2 separate regions of the Homo sapiens genome follow, and region 1 is linked to region 2. Evidence: promoter capture Hi-C in human tissues and cell types (Jung and others, 2019). All regions are on one chromosome and are shown on one strand. Each heading gives the region's core, a stretch centred on a gene start or on the middle of the fragment in contact. The rest is flanking DNA. Distances are from core to core; before and after follow the strand shown. Region 1 holds the start of SYNE4 (spectrin repeat containing nuclear envelope family member 4). Region 2 holds the start of OVOL3 (ovo like zinc finger 3).

What was found. The method cuts DNA at HindIII sites, captures the fragments that hold promoters and counts their contacts. A contact is called where the count stands out against the background at its distance.
Region 1: a contact is called between the fragment with the promoter of SYNE4 here and the fragment with the promoter of OVOL3 in region 2, in 3 of the 25 tissues and cell types used here (dorsolateral prefrontal cortex, small bowel and spleen).

Annotation. Positions count from the first base shown.
Region 1 is chr19:36,007,366-36,010,065 of GRCh38, forward strand. SYNE4 (spectrin repeat containing nuclear envelope family member 4) reads right to left here and starts at 1,448. Exons shown (of 8, transcript NM_001039876.3): 1 at 1,189-1,448; 2 at 852-1,002. The coding sequence starts at 1,316. It overlaps ALKBH6 (alkB homolog 6), which reads right to left. Exons shown (of 7, transcript NM_032878.5): 7 at 1,755-2,188. The coding sequence ends at 1,925. RefSeq lists enhancers at 620-1,161, 1,162-1,701. The HindIII fragment of the contact is 19,934 bases long and covers 577-2,700 here.
Region 2 is chr19:36,109,828-36,112,527 of GRCh38, forward strand. It overlaps OVOL3 (ovo like zinc finger 3), which reads left to right and starts at 1,316. Exons shown (of 4, transcript NM_001302757.2): 1 at 1,316-1,469; 2 at 1,542-1,606. The coding sequence starts at 1,376. It also overlaps a transcript of WDR62 not described here. RefSeq lists enhancers at 915-1,545, 1,546-2,175. The HindIII fragment of the contact is 22,945 bases long and covers 1-2,700 here.

The sequences.
Region 1 (2,700 bases), core at 198-2,697, 100 kb before region 2:
TCTGTGGCACAGTCCATCTCCGGGTCTGTCTGCACCAGGATGGCTCCCACTGGGGGGGCCTTCCCAGTGGAGCCAGGCCTGAGGACAGATATCTAGTTCAAGGTCTCCAGGTTTTCAAAGCTCCTGGAAACTTGGATGTGTGAGGCCTGGGGGGTCTGGACAGGGAGCGGGGCTGGGTACCCCCCAAGAAGAATGGGGCTACACCAGGAGCAATGATGAAATGCTTCTCAGCCGGGCGCAGTGGTTCACATCTGTAATCCCAGCACTTTGGGAGGCCGAGGCCCGAGGATCACTTGAGCCCAGGAGTTCAAGACCAGCCTGGGCAACATGGTGAGACATCATCTCTACTTTTTTTTTTTTAATAAAAAAGAAATATGGCTGGACACGGTGACGCACGCCTGTAATCCCAGCACTTCGGGAGGCTGAGGTGGGTGGATCACCTGAGGTCGGGAGTTCGAGACTAGCCTGGCCAACAAGTCGAAAACCCATCTCTACTAAAAATACAAAAAATTAGCCAGGTATGGTGGCATGTGCCTGTAATCCCAGCTACTCGGGTGGCTGAGGCAGGAGAATCACTGGGACCTGGGAGGCGGAGGTTGCAGTGAGCAGAGATCTCACCACTGCATTCCAGCCTAGGTGACAGAGAGACTCCATCTCAAAAAAAAAAAGAAAGAAAGAAATACGTCTCCCCAGTTGGTCAGATATTGAAACACTTTTCCAGAAGGTCCCTCCCCCTACAGACACCCAACACCTTTCCAGAATCATCACCCGGTCCTCAGTATGGAGGCCAGACTCCAGGGGACAGAGAGGAGGTGGGGCTGGCACAAGGGGTCTGGGTCACCTCAGCTCACCTCACAGTGTTTGCCCCCAGCTGGGTCCTCGTAGGAAGAGGGTGTTGACCATCTCGGGGGGTGAGCGGCAGGCTCATTGCCCCTTGGCCCACCCTGGAAGTGCTCAGGAGGGCCCAAGGAGTCCTGTCCCAGGGTCTGGGCCTGCTCTGGGCTAGGAGGCAGGGGGCGGTGACTGGGTGAGTCTCGACACCTCACTTTTCAGCCTACCGTCACCCCAACCCTGGTGGCCTCTCCTATGTCCCCAGGCGATCACAGCCATGGCACCTCCTACCCTCACATGGCCCCTGCCACCACGCCTACCCTTTTGGGAACAAGCTTCCAAAGCCCCGGCCCCCACCTCGTGCTCTCCTCTCCGGACGCGGGGCAGACGGTGCATCCAACAATGTCCGCCTCTCTAGGTGCTCCCGGTGGGTGGTTGAGGGGCTCTGAGCCAAGTCTAGGGCCCAGAGGCAGGGACAGGGCCATGGCTGGGGGCCTGGGGACACAAAGTCAGGTGAGGGCAGCCAGTAAGACCTCTTCCCTAGACAAGGGTGTCCCAGAGCTCCTCCGCTGGAGTCACCCGGGCCTGAGGCTGCAGGAGAGGCCCAGGACAGGTCTGGCTCCGCCCCTTCCAAGAGGAACCTGGACCCGGCCATTTGATGCCCAGCTCAGGTGACAGAAGAGTCACTTAACTCCTTCCTCCCTAGCAGGCCAGTAGCTAAATCTCCCAGCATCACTCCACGCCATCCAAGAGGGTTCCAGATAGAACCCCTGCGCCACCTCCTCAAGAGCCCTGGATTCTGCCCCACTGGGAACCCAGAAATCGGACCTCCAGGGCCTACCCCATTCATTTAAGACCCTAGATGCCGCTCCCCTCAGGAAACCAAGCATCTGGCCCCTAAAAAATAAAAATATAAAACCAAGGAAAGATTTTTTTGTTTATTTGGTATGGGGTCTTCTGTAGCTCACACAAAATTATTGGGAAAATAAATAACCCAGGGGAGCCCCCTTTGCCCACGGTTCCTAGGTCGCGGAGTCACAGCAGCCCCAAAGGGGCAGGAACCTGGGAATCCGAGGGGTCCCGGCCCTGGCGGTCACTTGCCCAGCAGGAGGCCGGCGCGCAGCACGCGGGGCACGCGGCGGATGGTCAGCGAGACCCGGGTGCCGCGCACCAGGCAGGCTCCCGGCCGCGCCGACGGGCAGGCTGCCGCATTGGGCGGCGAGGAGGCGGCGTCCAGCGCGTCTACGCGGGCGGCGGCGATGCCGTGGAGAAGACGCGTGTAGGCGGGGCCGCGGAGCACCAGCAGGCTGCGCGGTTCCAGCAGTAGCGAGGTGGTGGGCCGGGGCGGAGGCCGAGGCTGCAGGGCGGGTTGAGGGTCAGCAGGGCTCAAGAAGTCGGGGGGTGGGGGTGGGCGAGAGGTCGGTAGCCTCCGGGGATCAGCTAGTCCCCAGGGGCAAAAGCTGAAGAGCAAGTGTGCTCACAATGATGGAGGCTTTGGTGGTTCAGGAGTGAAAATTGCTGGGGCCTGGGCTGGGGCTGCTGGAAAGGGAGGGCGAGGGCTCTGCCGTCCCTCGGGAGGGGGCAGGATCTAGGTGGCAGATGGGGGCGTCAAAGGGTCAGCGGCCGGTGGGAGCTGCAGCTGGGATCTCAAAGGGGCTGAGGCTGGGGCTGGGACCCAGGAATAGGCAGTCCCCAGGAAATACAGGCAGAGCTGGGCTGAGAGAGCATGGCTGAAGCCAGGACCAGGTGAGGAGAGAGTGAGGCAGAGGTTAGAGGCAGTGGGGGTTCCCAAGGACATCAGGACATTAGAGGACAACCGCACAGCTGAGGGAGTGTCAGAGCATCCAGGAGCATGCAGGGCTCGAGGGC
Region 2 (2,700 bases), core at 66-2,565:
CGGATCACCTGCATTTAGGAGTTTGAGACCAGCCTGGCCAACATGGTGAAACCCCATCTCTACAAAAAACACAAAAAATCAGCTGGGTGCAGTGGTGTGCCCCTGTAATCCCAGCTACTTGGAAGGCTGAGGCAGGAGACTCACTTGAACCCAGGAGGCGGAGGTCATAGAGGAGCCAAGATCACGCCATTGCACTCCAGCCTGGGCAACGAGCAAAACTCCGCCTCAAAAAAAAAAAATTAAAAAACAGAGCTTGGATTGCTTCTTAGTCTTCTGGCTAAGAATCAAGTGTAAAACAGCTTGGCCAGTGTGCCGGGGTAGGGTCCTGGGAGCCCCTGGCTGTGTCAAGAGACCCCCTTTGGGCCAGGTGCGGTGGCTCATGCCTGTAATCCCAGCACTTTGGGAGGCCAAGGCAGGCGGATCACTTGACGTCAGGAGTTCAAGACTAGCCTGGCCAACATGGTGAAACTCTGTCTCTACCAAAAATACAAAAATTAGCCCGGTGTGGTGGTGCATGCCTGTAGTCCCAGCTACTCAGGAGGCTGAGGCAGGAGAATCGTTTGAACCCGGGAGGTGGAGGTTCCAGTGAGCCAAGATGGTGCCACTGCACTCCAGCCTGGGCAACAAGAGTGAAACTCCGTCTCAAAAAAAGAAAAAAAAATAGGAGACCCCCTTTTACTTTCCAGACTGTGGGAGGGAGGAAGAGTGTTGTCCCAGGCAGTAACTAGGGGCTAGATTATTAACAAACTAGTATTTTAGTGCCTGCTACACCTGAACAGTGCTTCTGGCTGAATGTTAGCCCTGGGAATCTGAAGATCAGAGAGGTGGGGCATCCTACCTGAGGATGCACAGCCTGGATCCTCATTTTGCCCTGATTTATCCAGATCTGCTGTCCTCCCTGCACCCTACAGAGCAGGGCAATCACAGCAGGGGGCCCCTTCAGTGTCCTCAGACAGCTGCTGTGATTTGAATAACCAGGCAGGCTGCTGGATGTCCCCTGGTGACTGATTTGCCTGGCAAACAGACCCTCAACCCCTGGGAGACAGTCCCCCTGGGGCCTTGTTTCTTCTTCCTATCCTCAAAAGCTCCCCAGGCCCATCTCCCCTTGCCTGGCTCTGCTTGGTGGTCCTAGTGCTTGTCCACCCCTGGAGGCTGGATGGTTCCCTCCAAAACCTGGGAGAAGATGGGCAGGTCCCCAGGCAGGGGTAACCTGAGCCAGCTTAGTCCACTCCCAGGGCCAGCCAGGAAATTTGCATGAAGAGAATGAGGTTCCTCAGAGGCTTCCCCTCCTTTCCCACCAGGGATAGTCATCCTGGGGCTGAGGTCTGACAGCAGGTGGAAGCAGCCCCTGTGTGTGGAGAGCCTTCCGGAGGGCATGCCCCGCGCCTTCCTGGTCAGGAGTCGGCGTCCACAGCCCCCCAACTGGGGCCATCTGCCTGACCAGCTCCGGGGAGATGCCTATATCCCAGGTGGGCCCCTCACTGTGCCTGGAGGTAAGGGGCAGGAGAGACGCAGTGTCACCATCTGGCTTTTCTCCTCAGACTGCAGCAGCCTGGGGGGGCCACCGGCACAACAGTCGTCCAGTGTCAGGGATCCGTGGACAGCGGTGAGTGTGTAACTGGCTAGCAAAGCCAGCTGTTTCGCTCCTGCCTGCTCTCAGCCTTAATGAAGCTGACAGCCCCTTGCTCCCCCGACCCATCTGCACACGCCCTCCAGCCTCGGGACCTGTCCGCCCCTACTTCTCTGTGTTGGGAATGCCTCTCCTTTCCTAGTAGTGAGCTCTCTACTGTTAGGTCTCACCCCAGGCACCAGGGCCGGCAGCCACAGGGATCTCTTCCAGCGGGGCACAAGATTCATCCCCACATGTGGATGATCCGCTTTATGTCAGAACATGGGACAAGGCAACAGGAGTGCGATGGGAGATAAGGGCTTTTTCAGCTGTGCATGCATTGGAGGAAGGAAAGCGCCAGCCGGAATGTAATATATTCATGAAAGCAAGGCACTGTTCTAGGCATGGGCTGTTATATTCAGCGGGAATAAGACAAAAATCCACAATTTTATGGAGCTTATATTCTGGTTGGGGCTGCATGTATAGACAATAAAATTAGTCAGCCTGTAATTCCAGCACTTTGGGAGGCCGAGGCGGGTGAATCACTTGAGGTCATGAGTTCGAGACCAGGCTGGCCAACATGTTGAAACCTTGTCTCTACTAAAATTACAAACATTAGCCAGACATGGTGGCACGTGCCTGTAATCCCAGCTCCTCAGGAGGCTGAGGCAGGAGAATCAGTTGAACCTAGGAGGCAGGGCAGAGGATGCAGTGAGCCGAGTCTGCGCCACTGCACTCCAGCCTGGGAAACAGATCTAGACTCCATCCCCCCTCAAAAAAAACAATAAAATTAGAAAAATAGACCGGGCATAGTGGCTCATGCCTGTAATCCCAGCACTTTGTGAGGCCAAGGTGGGTGGATTGCTTGAGGTCAGGAATTCAAGACCAGCCTGGCCAACATGGTGAAACCCCATCTCTACAAAAAATAAAAAAATTAACTGGGCATGTGGCGCATGCCTACAATCGTGTAATCGTGGGGAGGCTGAGGCACTAGAATCGCTTGAACCCGGGAGGCGGAGGTTGCAGTGACCTGACATCATACCACTTCACTCCTGCCTGGGCGACAGAGCAAGACTCTGTCTTTAAAAAAA